Linked DNA regions of Homo sapiens: all the other regions are linked to region 2. Evidence: promoter capture Hi-C in human tissues and cell types (Jung and others, 2019). All regions are on one chromosome and are shown on one strand. Each heading gives the region's core, a stretch centred on a gene start or on the middle of the fragment in contact. The rest is flanking DNA. Distances are from core to core; before and after follow the strand shown. Region 1 overlaps NUP88 (nucleoporin 88). Region 2 holds the start of SHPK (sedoheptulokinase). Region 3 overlaps ZNF594-DT (ZNF594 divergent transcript).

Evidence for each region. The method cuts DNA at HindIII sites, captures the fragments that hold promoters and counts their contacts. A contact is called where the count stands out against the background at its distance.
Region 1: a contact is called between a fragment that was not itself captured here and the fragment with the promoter of SHPK in region 2, in 1 of the 25 tissues and cell types used here (aorta).
Region 3: a fragment that was not itself captured here is called in contact with the fragment with the promoter of SHPK in region 2 in 2 of the 25 tissues and cell types used here (aorta and pancreas).

What each region holds. Positions count from the first base shown.
Region 1 is chr17:5,411,119-5,415,566 of GRCh38, forward strand. NUP88 (nucleoporin 88) reads right to left here. Exons shown (of 17, transcript NM_002532.6): 3 at 2,891-3,016. Among named protein-coding and RNA genes, the nearest start is that of NUP88, 6.3 kb to the right of the region's middle. RefSeq lists an enhancer at 2,186-3,385. The HindIII fragment of the contact is 3,817 bases long and covers 472-4,288 here.
Region 2 is chr17:3,634,740-3,639,492 of GRCh38, forward strand. SHPK (sedoheptulokinase) reads right to left here and starts at 1,511. Exons shown (of 7, transcript NM_013276.4): 1 at 1,313-1,511. The coding sequence starts at 1,480. CTNS (cystinosin, lysosomal cystine transporter) reads left to right here and starts at 2,021. Exons shown (of 12, transcript NM_004937.3): 1 at 2,021-2,092; 2 at 2,368-2,577. LOC105371493 (a long non-coding RNA gene) reads right to left here. Exons shown (of 6, transcript XR_007065579.1): 6 at 3,758-4,346. RefSeq lists silencers at 1,227-1,286, 2,297-2,386 and an enhancer at 1,767-2,016. The HindIII fragment of the contact is 13,000 bases long and covers 1-4,753 here.
Region 3 is chr17:5,201,237-5,205,537 of GRCh38, forward strand. The region is part of intron 1 of ZNF594-DT (ZNF594 divergent transcript); the gene reads left to right. Among named protein-coding and RNA genes, the nearest start is that of ZNF594-DT, 11 kb to the left of the region's middle. The HindIII fragment of the contact is 6,214 bases long and covers 1-4,301 here.

The DNA.
Region 1 (4,448 bases), core at 1,130-3,629, 1.8 Mb after region 2:
CCAGTTTTCCTTCAACTACACACATCTATCTCTGCCTATTGGACACCAAATCCCACCAGAGAAAGAACTGTATCTTATTCTTTATATGCCAACTGGCTGACAGAGTGAGTGATATTTAGCCTGCAAATCTACTTATGTGTTTGTTATATAAAAACCCAATATTGGCCAAGCACGGTGGCTCACACCTGTAATCCTAGCACTTTGGGAGGCCGAGGTGAGCAGATCACTTGAGGTCAGGAGTTCGTGACCAGCCTGGCCAACATGATGAAACCCCGTCTCTACTAAAAATACAAAAATTATTTGGGTGTGGTGGCACACACCTGTAATCCCAGCTACTCGGGAGGCTGAGGCAGGAGAATCACTTGAACCTGGGAGGTGGAGGTTGCGGTGAGCTGGAGGCTGGAGTGAGCCAAGATCACGCCACTGCACTCCAGCCTGGGCGACAGAGCGAGACTCCATTTCAAAAAAAAAAAAAAAAACCAAACAAACAAACCCAGTATCGTATCATCTCTATTTTCAAGGGAAAGTATAATACTGAATTTTTTTAACCAAAATTATTTTAATTTAAAGTAACCTACATTTCACAGCATATAAGGCTATTGTGAAAAAGGGAATTTTCAAAAGGCCAGTAATGTCATTTTAGAAATCCAGTGTCCCTTATAATCACTTATTTTGTCTGACGCCACTAAGAATTTTTTAACTTGGTTTCTTCCAATATCAATAAAATGCCACATTAAGTATTTAATAAATTTTTAATGATAACTTGATCCATTTGAATACACATTTATTACAGTCTTCCTAGGTTCCTACAAGCGTTACTAACTTCAAAATACACATAAATACTAGGCAATAATGTTGTACTGGGGAACAGTGAAAGAAAAAGAAGGTGCAACAGGGCATTCGGTGAAAATTTCCTTTTGCTCTGAAACTGCCCAAAATCTCCAAAGCTTAGGAAAACAGAAGTGTTAAATACCACATATTTTAAAAAAGAACCTTCAATATTTGGGGCCAGATACTTCCTTTGGGGCTTAAGAACTGTACCTATGCTATCTTCCCACCATCTCCTTTTCCATCATAGCATATAAAAGGAAGACTAAGAAGAGAGGATGTCAAAGATTCCTTAGGAGTACAGTATAATGTTTGTAATGGGAAGATTTTCCCTCTCCTCTTTCTCTGCCCTGAACTCTAAAGCCAAATGGGTGGGCAGGGAAGGCTCTAGGAAACAGCCAGATGTGGAGGTACCTGTAATAAGGGAGACTGGTGCATTTCCTAGCTGAATGCCCCTTAGTCACTTAGTAGCTGTCTCAGTTATAAGATCGAAAAAACATAGCAATACACACGTATCACGTTCAGTACTATCTACAGTTTCAGGCATTCACTGGGGGGTCTTGGAACACACACCCTGCAGATAAAGTATACTGTACCCCATCTTGAGAGAAGATTCAGGGCATAGAGAACTGACAGGAGCCAATGGGAGCCAGAGCTCCTCAGTGATGGGGGGAGCTGGAAGTTCAACACTGCCCTCCAACACCACCCCACCCCCCCACATACACACACACAAACACACCATCTATGCAGAGACTACCACATCAACAGAGTTCACTAGTGACAGATGGAACGAGATTCAAACAAGATCAGGCATACTTCCCCATCACTCACAGGCTACCAGTTCGGTAAGATCTCTACCTCACCTGTCCCACTCCCCTACCCCACACTGAAGGAGTTAGATTTGGAGGAAGGAGGGGGCAGCCCATTCCTTACACTTCACCCTATGTTCCAAAGTGCTGGGATAACAGGAAGAGTGAAAGAGCAGACCGCACACTCTCCAATCACTTCTGATCCCACAAAACACAGGTCTGACCTACAAAAGGGCCAGGACATAGTTGTGAAAGATTTGAGATCAAATAGCTTTCGACATTCTTATTTTCTTTAGACAGGGTTTTACTCTGTCACCCAGGCTGCAATCTTCCTACCTCAGTCTCCTGAGTAGCTGGGACTACCGGCACATGCCATTATGCCCAGCTAATTTTTTTTGCAGAGACAGGATCTCACTGTATTGCCCACATTGGTCTCGAACTCAGGGGCTCAAATGATCCTCCCACCTCGGCCTCCCAAAGTGCTGGGATTACAGGTGTGAGCCACTGCAACCAGCCAAGATGAGTTTTAAACTGGACACACTGTTTTCATAACTAGAAGTAACGAGAAAGCTATGGGGATCTGTATAAGACATCATTAAGGGGTGAGTCATTCAGCAGTGAAGGAAGATTTAGTAGAGCACAGTTAAAAGCAGTGATTACGAAAAATAAAACTGAAGGTATCTGTACCTCTGCTGAGTCCCCCCAATAACTTTTTACATAAGGCCGATCCAGAAAGTTAGCTGATAATAGAGTAGAAATCTACGTAGCATTAGGGCATTTAATCATAGAGTGCAAAGCTTGGAAGGGGCGTTAGAAACTATTGAATCAAACCTGCTCAATTTAAAAGATTGGAAACTGAGCCCCCCAACCCCTAAAAAGCTCAAGATCTCAAAGATAACAGAAAAGGAGGTGGGACAATAATTCAAATCTCTAAATTTACACTTACATTCTCTTTCCTTTATGCTACATTATTACCAAAAGGGTGACAATGATGAAAGAGTTTTGGAAAGATTATTCTAAGGTGTCAGATTAGGAGAGGAGATACCTGGAGGCAGGAAGACTAGTTGAGAAGGAATAGTGGTAAGTTAGAGCAGTTAGGCAATTCTTATGATTGAGAATGGGTTACAACAGCCATCCAATAAAAGCACTGACTCATTCAATGACTCACTTCGTTCTATGTTGAGCTGTTAATTGGCAAACAGAAACAGAGCTTTCCCACTCGCAAGGCTTCAAGAGAGAGAAATAAAATTTACCTGATTACGTTGTCTGATGTTAACAGCACTACGTGGGGATCCAGGATTTCACTTGGATACCATGCAGCATGCTTTAGAGTCAGAGAGGTGGAACTGGTGAAAAATCTCTCCGCAACTGGAGTGGTACTAAAATAAAGATAATAATTTTCCAAAACATTTTGTACAACTTGGATGAAAATCTTCTAAAGGAACTTCTTTTTTTTGCAGATGGAGTTTCTCTCTTGTTGCCCAGGCTGGAGTGTAACGGCACAATCTCGGCTCACTGCAACCTCCGCCTCCCAGGTTCAAGTGATTCTCCTGCCTCAGTCTTTCAAGTAGCTGGGATTACAGGCACCTGCCACCTCGCCCAGCGAACTTTGTATTTTCAGTAGAGAGGGGGTTTCTCCATGTTGGTCAGGCTGGTCTCAAACTCCCGACCTCAGGTGATCTGCCCACCTCGGCCTCGCAAAGTGCTGGGATTACAGGCATGAGCCACCACGCCAGGCCCTGAAGAAATTTCTATTTTAACACTCTTTGATTCTCTTTCCTTCAGATTTATTTCCCTGAAATCATGCTGAGAGGACATTCAAGGCATCTATTCAATCAATATCAAAGAATTGAAATAAAAATATCTTCTAAATTATAGCACACTGGCTGGGCGCAATGGCTCACGCCTATCTTAGCACTTTGGGAGGCCAAGGCAGGTGGATCACCTGAGGTCAGGAGTTTGAGACCAGCCTGGCCAACATGGTAAAACCCCGTCTCCACTAAAAATACAAGAATTAGGCAAGTGTGGTGGCACATGCCTGTAACCCGTTACCCGTGAGGCTGAGGCAGAAGAATCGCTGGAACCCAGGAGGTGGAGGCTGCAGTGAGCTGAGCTTGTGCCACTGCACTCCAGCCCGGGCTGAGGAGGTTGCAGTGAGCTGAGATCACGCCACTGCACTCCAGCTTGGGCTACAGAGCCAGACTCTGTCTCAAAATAAATAAATAATTTATTTATTTTAATAATTTAAATTATTTATTTAAATTTTATTTGTTTATTTATTTGAGATGAAGTCTCACTCTGTGGCCCAAGCTGGAGTGCAGTGGCGTGATCTTTGCTCACTGCAACCTCCGCCTCCTGGATTTAATCAATACTTGTGCCTTAACCTCCTGAGTAGCTGGGACTACAGGCGTGTGCCACCACACCCCACTTATTTTTTGTATTTTAGTAGAAATGAGGTTTCACCATGTTGCCCAGGGTGGTCTCAAGCTCCTGAGCTCAGGTGATCCACCTGCCTCGGCCTCCCAAAGTGCTGGGATTACAGGTGTGAGCCATCGTGCCTGGCTCCAAATTATAGCATATTTCATACGTATATATACATTTTAGGATGGTTTGACTTAGGATTGATACATATTTATACAGTACAAGTGTTTTCAGATATAGTATCTCATTTGATCTTTTTACTAACCCTGTAAGGAAATTACAAGGGCAGATATTATCAATCCTATTTTTAAAATGAGGAAACAGATTTAGAAGGTAAACAGTTTAAGGGGACTCAACTTATAAGTTGCGGAGCTAAAAGCAGTTTCTACC
Region 2 (4,753 bases), core at 261-2,760:
GTCCCAACCAAACTAATCTTGAAAGCTTCTATGTAGATACAAAGTGCTCCTGAAATCCCTATCCTCAGAAATGCTTCTGAGCCAAATGGGCTCTGAACCCTAAACAACCGTGTCCATGTATGTGGCAAGAGCTTGTGAAAAACAAAGCTGGGCCAGGCGCAGTGACTCACAACTGTAATCCTAGCACTTTGGGAGGCTGAAGTGGGCAGATCACTTGAGGTCAGGAGTTCAAGACCAGTCTGGCGAACATGGCGAAACCCTGTCTCTACTAAAAATACAAAAAGTAGCCGGGCGCGGTGGCTCACACCTGTAGTCCCAGCTACTCGGGAGGCTGAAGCAGGAGAATCACTTGAATCCAGTTGGCGGAGGTTGCAGTGAGCCCAGATCACGCCACTGTACTCCAGCCTGGGCAACAGAGCGAGACTTGGTAAGAAAGAGAAAGAAAGGAAAGAATGAAGGAAGGAAGGAAGGAAGGAAGGAAGGAAGGAAGGAAGGAAGGAAGGAAGGGAAGGAAGGGAAGGAGTCTCGCTCTGTCACCCAGGCTGGAGTGCAACGGAGCGATCTCGACTCACTGCAAGCTCCGCCTCCCGGGTTCGCGCCATTCTCCTGCCTCAGCCTCCCGAGTAGCTGGGACTACAGGCGCCCGCCACCACGCCCCGCTAATTTTTTGTATTTTTAGTACAGACGGGGTTTCACCGTGTTAGCCAGGATGGTCTCGATCTCCTGACCTCGTGATCCGCCCGCCTCGGCCTCCCAAAGCGCTGGGATTACAGGCGTGAGCCACCGCGCCCGGCTGACCAAAGGTTTCTTGGTCCGCATTCTGCTTCTGTGGAATGAGCCAGGAGCCAGTTAGGCCTGATTTGACATCTGATTTCCGGAGGAAAACCCAGACTCTGCCCTGGGCAACAAACTGAATCCTGAACTTGAGGTCACAGGGCAGGTGTGAGGAGCGGAGAGCAGCAAGAGTGAAAGGGAGGCCTGTGGTCATTCCATACACACAAGAGATCAGTTCCTCCAAGGTCAGGGGACAGAGAGCACAGGGATCCAGCGCCAAGCGCAAGGCCCCCAGAAGAAGCCAGAGAGTCGGGGAGGGGGCGGGGGGGAATCGGTCCCAGCAGGTGGGAAGGATTCTGGGACCAGACCTAAGGGATCATGAGCACAGCTGCTGCAGGCAGACGGGCCCCTGGAGAAGCTGGGGACAAGCTGGAATAGAGACTTCATTGCGGGAAGGGCTGTCAGGGAGGCCTCCTGGGGTGGAAAAGGGTGGTCAGGAGGCTCCTGGAGGCGGCGCGGCCCCGGGGGTCCAACTCACCTGGGGCCCGGCCACCGCGCTCTCGACCGCCGCCTCTGCCCGCGCAGCACGGGCACAGCTCGCCAGCACTGCGAACCCGGATGGGTCGTCGGGCGCGGCCCTCAGCAGAGCTGCCTTCACAGATGTGGTGCCCAGGTCAATGCCGAGGGTGATCGGCCGCGCAGCCATTATCTCCCTGACCCGCGCAGCTCCAGTCTGCAGCCAGCGGCCCCACAAGTCCGCGCTCTTCGCCCAGGGGGGCGGGGCAGGGGCGGGGAGTCGCCTGCCAATCTTTCAGCCACACCCAACATGGAGGCTTCTCGTCTTCCCACTGGCCGGGGAAGGCGAGCTTCCACGCAACCTCTCGGCGGGCCCCGGCTATAGGCGGAGAGGCGGCGGAAGGCGGGACCTAAAGGGGGCCCCGCCCCACGGGCTCTGATTTCCGCCCAATGGAGGGCGGTCTGAGCTTCGCTCACGAAAGGAGCCGGGAGGCGCTGGCGGCTCCAAGAGTCTCTGTGTCCCTGGCAGCGGACCTCATCTTCCCTCACGCCGGAGCCCCGATCTCTGCGCCCCGGCCCGACCCAGCTGCGCTCTGTCCGTCTAAGACGCGCGGAAACTACAACTCCCAGAGCTCATCTCGCCGAGATCCGGCCCCACGAGTCAGGTGGCGGAGGTCAGGTGACAGCGGACCCGCCTCTCCCAAAGTCTAGCCGGGCAGGGGAACGCGGTGCATTCCTGACCGGCACCTGGCGAGGCTCATGCGTCCCGTGAGGGCGGTTCCTCGAGCCTGGGGGCGCTCAGGTGAGAGCGGACGCGGCCTCCCCTGTTTCCCAGGCGGACCCCTTGAGGCACAGCAGGTCAGCGGGGCAGCCTGCCGGGGGTCCAGCGCCCTCAGCCGCGGCGGGCTCCTTTCCCCGCCACCAGTGCTGGCCTCGCGACACGGGACAACCCCCGGGTGGAAGGGCCCGAGCGGTGGTCAGCCGAGGCAGGGGCAGCGGGCTGCCGGGGTGGGTGCCGTTCCCAGCCCCTTACCTTCTGCTCAGTTGCCGCCTGGGTCTCGGTTGGGGAATTTGCAGATTGCTTTGGAGACGCTGAGAGAACCTTTGCGAGAGCGCCGGTTGACGTGCGGAGTGCGGGGCTCCGGGGGACTGAGCAGCACGAGACCCCATCCTCCCCTCCGGGTTTTCACACTGGGCGAAGGGAGGACTCCTGAGCTCTGCCTCTTCCAGTAACATTGAGGATTACTGTGTTTTGTGAGAGCTCGCTAGGCGCCCTAAGCAACAGAGGTAACCACTTTATATCCTTGTTTCTCAACCTCGTTATTCCTACCTACCCCCTTCCCATAAAATTTAATACCACTAGTACGCTGTGTATTTGTTTCTGTGGCCACAAACCATTGTAATAGCTAGATTTCTTCACTACCACCCCAAGCCAATTTTTTTTTTTTTTTTGAGATGGAGTCTGCAGCCTCTGTCACCCAGGCTGGAGTGCAGTGGCGCGATCTCGGCTCACTGCAACCTCCGCCTCCGGGGTTCAAGCGATTCTCCTACCTCAGCCTTCCGAGTAGCTGGGACTACAGGCCTGAGCCACCATGCCCAGCTAATTTTTGTATTTTTAGTAGAGATGGGGATTCACCATGTTGGCCAGGCTGGTCTCGAACTCCTGACCTCAGGTGATGCGCTCACCTCGGCCTCCCAAAGTGCTGGGATGACAGGCGTGAGCCACCGCGCCCAGCCTACCCCCAGCCAATTTTAGTCCCACTTGACAATGCGTGCTTTACATCTCCTCATTTAAGTCCTGTGAGGTAGTTACCACCTCCTTGTTTGGCACCACAAGGTCGCATAAGTAATAAATAGGTCAAGCCTGTCTCCAGTGCACACAGCCCTTGCCACTATTTGTGTACCCTCTCCAAAAGCAGGAGACCCAGGGAGTTCCAGGTCGTAGAACAGAGGACAGGACCAACTCATACCTGGCAGACAGGAGCTGCCACACTAGACCCCTAGCCCCAGGTTGCTCCTGGGAAGGGACTGAATGGGTGAGGAGCCTTCTTGAAACATGTGACATCTGAATGAGGCCTGGACAATAGTTAGAACTTACATAGGAAGGGCACGCCAGACAGAGCCCATTGTCAGGAGATACTTCATTTCTATCTTGTAGCTTTCACAAGCCACTAGTTGTATGTAATTATCAATCTGGTTTTTTTTTTGTTTTTTTTTTTTAATTTGAGACGGAGTTTCACTCTTATCACTCAGGCTGGAGTGCAATGGTGCAATCTCGGCTCACTGCAACCTCCACCTCCCGGGTTCAAGCGATTCTCCTGCCTCAGCCTCCTGAGTAGCTGGGACTACAGGCACATGCCACCACGCCTGGCTAATTTTTGTATTTTTAGTAGAGACGGGGATTCACCATGTTGGCCAGGCTGGTCTCGAACTCCTGACTTCAAGTGATCCAACTGCCTCGGCCTCCCAAAGTGCTGGAATTACACACACGAGCCACTGCGCTCAGCCTAATCTGATGTTTTTTAACATTTTAATTGACTTACCTCTCAATGTCGTTTTGTCTCTGCTGGCATCGTTCCTCCAGGGGTCTCAGCCTTTGAGGCTTGGGAATGTTTGCTGACCAAGTCTGTGAGTTTGAGAAGCTGGTTAGGCCTGATTCTGCATCTAATTTCTGGAGAAAAACCAGACTCTGTCCTGGGCAACAAACTGAATCCTGAACTTGAGGCCACAGGGCAGGTGTGAGGAGCGGAGGGCAGCAAGAGTGAGAGGGAGGCCTGTGGTCATTCCATACACGCAGGAGGGCAATTCCTCCAAGGTCAGGGGACAGAGCACAGGGATCCAGCGCCAAGAGCAAGGCCCCCAGAGGAGGCCAGAGAGTAGGTACGGGGTCATTCCCGGCCGGTGAGAAGGGTCTCAGATGAGGCAGACCTGCAGCAGGCAAAGAGAGAACCCTGGAGGAGACGGGCCAACAGAGGTCAGACAGCTGGAGCAGCCAGGGAGACTTCTTGAGGAGTGTGTAAGGGAGATGTCCGGAGATGCTGGAGGCCTTGGGGAAACTGAAATCAGAGTGGGAACAGGGATGTCTCCACACAGACCTTACCCAGAGCTCCCCACAGTCTGCAGGAGGCCCGTGAGACTGTGTACTGAGGCAGCACGGAGACCAAGCTACAGAAATCCATGCCGGCCTGGCTGCTCTTGACCCACTGTTCACCTGCTGTGTCTTGGGTTTACAGGAATGCAGCTCCCCATCTTCCACACTAAACCAAGGACTTGCTCTGGGGCTCATCCCTCCCCGAGTCCTCCTTGTGAATGACCCCAGCCAGTCCTGGAATGGTGACACTTGTCAAATAAAGTCTTGACAGGCGCGGTGGCTCCTACCTGTAACCCCAGCACTTTGGGAGGCTGAGGCGGGCGGATCACTCGAGGTCAGGAGTTTGAGACCAGGCTGGCCAACATGGTGAAA
Region 3 (4,301 bases), core at 722-3,221, 1.6 Mb after region 2:
TATGCTGGAGGGTGTTTGGCAATCAACTGTTAATTTAAGTGAGATTCCATTCTGCCGCTTAGCCATGGCAGAGCACACACATGTGCACTCAGGGAAAGCAGATGGAATAGGTTATAAACAGAAGCAAACTCCAATTCAGGAGACATGTTCACGCAGAAATAGTACTATGATGCAACATACATCACAAAAACAAATGGAAATTGTGTTTGTTTGTTTTTGAGATACAGTCTTGCTCTTTCGCCAGGCCAGAGTGCAGTGGCACAATCTCAGCTCACTGCAACATCCATCTCCCAGGTTCAAGCGATTCTCCTGCCTCAGCCTCCCGAGTAGCTGGGACTACAGGTGCGCACAACCACGCCAGCTAATTTTTGTATTTTTAGTAGAGACGGGGTTTCATCATCTTGGCCAGGATGGTTTCGATCTCCTGACCTTATGATCCGCCTCAGCCTCCCAAAGTACTGGGATTACAGGCGTGAGCCATGGCGCCCGGCAAGAAATTTTTTTTTAAATCTGTCTTTAGGGGATTATCTAGCTATTAGTGGGGTTAAATGAGGGAACTGTCGCCTCGGCAGAAGAGATGGTCCACTGTATTCATTTGTCATAATAACCAGACTCCTGGAGTTACTGGGTTCTAAAGTTGTTGATACAGCATGAATAGGTTTGGATGTGGAGTTCTGTATGGAGGATCCTTTCAACGGGAAGATAAACCAAAATTGTTGGTCGTAGCCTTTTGGACTACTGACTTAAGAGATTATTTGAATCTCTTTAAAGAGTCAAAATTGGCTGGGCGCGGTGGCTCATGCCTGTAATCTCAGCACTTTGGGAGGCCAGGGCAGGTGGATTGCTTGAGGTCAGGAGCTCAAGACCAGGCTGGCCAACATAGTGAAACCCCATCTCTACTAAAATACAACGATTAGCCAGGTGTGGTGGTGGGCACCTGTAATCCCAGCTACTTGGGAGGCTGAGGCAAGATAATCGCTTGAACCTGGGAGGCGGAGGTTGCAGTGAGCTGAGATCGAGCCACTACACTCTCAGCCTGGGTGACAGAATGAGGCTCTGTCTCACACACAAAATAAGCCTGTATTGTTGTAAATAGATTGTGAAGGGTGATTCTGGTGAGGGCTCAGAAGAAGAGGAGAGCTACAGAGAAAGCCTCAGTTTTCTTAGAGATTACCTAAGAGGTTGTACCAGAAGGCTAGTAGAAGTATGGATGTTAAAGGCCATTCTGATGAGGTCTCAGATGGAAATGAAGAACATGTTATTGGAAACTGGCAGAAAAATGATCCTGATTATCTGGCAAAGAATGTGGCTGAATTGTATGTCCTAGTGTTTTATGGAAGGTAGAAATTCTGAGTGATGAAATAGGATATTCGGTGGAAAAAATATCTGAGTAAAGTGTTGAGAGTGCGGCAAAGCTTCTCTTGAATGCCTGTAGTAAAATGCTAGCAGAGAGAAACCAATTAAAGATGGTCTTTCTTTCTCTTTCTCTCTCTCTCTCTCTTTCTCTCTCTCTCTCTCTTTCTTTCTGAGACAGAGTTTTGCTCTTTTTGCCCAGGCTGGAGTGCAGTGGCGCGATCTTGGCTCACTGCAACCTCCACCTCCTGGGTTCAAGTGATTCTCCTGCCTCAGCCTCCTGAGTAGCTGGGATTACAGGTTTGTGCCACGACGCCTGGCTAATTCTGTATTTTTAGTAGAGACGGGGTTTCACCATGTTAGCCAGGCTGGTCTCGAACTTCTAACCTCAGGCGATGTGCCCTTCTCAGCCTCCCAAAATGCTGGGATGACAGGCATGAGCCACCGCCCCCGGCCAAAGATGTTATTTATGATTTAAAAAGCAGCAGAATTTAAATATTTAGAAATTTACCAACCTGCCCATGTTGTAAAGAATGAAAAAGCTTGTTGAAGAGAAAACACCAAGAATGTGACCAAGGAAACTTTTGATAAGGAGGTTAGTGTGGGGAGATGGAAGCCAGATGCTCAGCATCACAGCGAAGAAGGACCCTGAAACCATTCCGAAGATCTTTAGAGGCTGCCCTGCCCATCACAGGCCCAGAAAACTAGGACCTTGAAGTCAAAGCGATTTCAAGGCTCTGCTCCCTGCATTCTGGTGCAGGGCTCCTGGCATACCCTAGCTGTGACTCAAGTGGGCCCAGCTGTGACTCAGGCCATCCCTCTGGGAGGCATAGACAGTAAAGCATGGTGGTGTCCAAGCAGTTTTATCTCCACAGCTGCGCAAAGTGCATGGGCTGTGAGGGCATTGCTACCTCTACCTAGATTTCAAAGGATTCCTGGGGGAATCTTGAGGCCCAGACGGAGCACCGCCAAAGGGGCAGGGCCACTGCGGAGAGCCCCCACTAGGGCAATGCCCAGCACAGCCATGGGGACGGGGGTGCCTCCAAGACCCCAGAATGTTAGGGCCACCAGCGTGCAACTCCAGCCTGGGAAAGCTGCAGGTCCGAGACTCCAACTCATGAAAGCTGCAGAGTGGGCTGTGCCCAGCAAAGCCATGGGGGGGCCGCCCCGAGTCTTGGAGGCCCAACCCCCATCCCAATATCTGGGGGGTAGGACGTCAAGTCAAACATTATTCTCAAACCTTAAGACTTAATGTTGTTTGCCATGTTGAGTTTCGGACTTACTTGGGACCCATCACCCCTTTCTTCTTTCCTATTTCTCCCTTTTGGAATGGAAATTTCTATCCTATGTCAGTCCCACCATTGTATTTTGGAAGCATACTTACATTGTATAAGTAGTTTGATTTCACAGGCTCATAATTGGAGAGCAATTTGCCTCAGGATGAATCATATCTTGACTTTTGCCCAGACTTGGAATGAGTCAACATTTAGTTGAGATGTTGACTTAGACTTTAAAGCTGTTATTGGAATGAGTTAAGACTTTTAGGGCTATTGGGATGGAATAAATCTATTTTGCATTTGAGAAGGACATGGATTTTGTGAGGTCATGGGCAGAATGCTATGGTCTATGTTTGTGTCCCCACAGAATTCGTATGTTGAAATCTAACCCCCAAGATGATGGTATTAAGAAGCAGGGTGTTTGGGGTGATTAGATCATGAGGGCCCTGCCCTCATGAATGGGATGAATGCCCTTATGAAAGAGGACCCAGGCTGGGTGCGGTGGCTCATACCTGTAATCCCAGCATTTAGGGAGGCTGAGACAAGAGGATTATTTGAGTCCAGGAGTTCAAGACCAGCCTGGGCAACATAGTGAGACTCCATCTTTACCAAAAAAAAGGAAGAAAGAAAGAAAAAAAATAGGCCGGGCGCGGTGACTCATGCCTGTAATCCCAGCATTTTGGGAGGCCGAGGCAGGTGGATCATGAGGTCAGGAGATCAGGACCATCCTGGCTAACATGGTGAAACCCTGTCTCTACTAAAAAAATGCAAAAAAATTATCCAGTTGTGGTGGCAGGTGCCTGTAGTCCCAGCTACTTGGGCGGCTGAAGCAGGAGAATGGTGTGAACCCAGGAGGTGGAGCTTGCAGTGAGCTGAGATCATGCCACTGCACTCCAGACTGGGCGACAGAGCAAGACTCCGTCTCAAAAAAAAAAAAAAAAAAACAGCCAGGTGTGGTGGCATGTGCCTGTAGTTCCAGCTACTCAGGAGGCTGAGGTGAGAGGATCACCTGAACCCAGGAGTTTGAGGCTGCAGTGAGCTATGATTGTGCTGCTGCACTCCAGCCTGGGTGACAAAGTAAGACTCTGTCTCAAAAAATAAAATAATATAAAAGAGGCCCCAGAAAGCTGTCTTCCCCTTCTATCATGTGAAGACACGGTGAGAAGGTGTGAAGCACAGAGTGAGCCCTCACCAAACACCAAATCTGCTGGCGCCTTGATCTTGGACTCCCCAGCCTCCAGAACTCTCAGCAACATTTCTGTTTTTAACAAATTATCCAGTCTAAGGAATTTTGTTATAGTAGACCAAATGGACTAAAACCCTGGGTATGTGGACCACTCCAGGCCAATGAGACATTAGGGAAAGTTGCTGGGGGCTCACCTCCCTAATAAAACGATACAGCCAGGCGCGGTGGCTCACATCTGTAATCCCAGCATGTTGGTAGGCTGAGGCAGGTGGATCATGAGGTCAAGAGATCAAGATCATCCTGGCCAACATGGTGAAACCCTGTCTCTACTAAAAATACAAAAATTAGCTGGGTGTGGTGGTCCCAGCTACTCAGGAGGCTTAGGCAGGAGAATCGCTTGAACCCAGGAGGCAGAGGTTGCAGTGAGCCAAGGTCGCACCACTGCACTCCAGCCTGGTGACAGAATGAGACTCCATCTCAAAAAA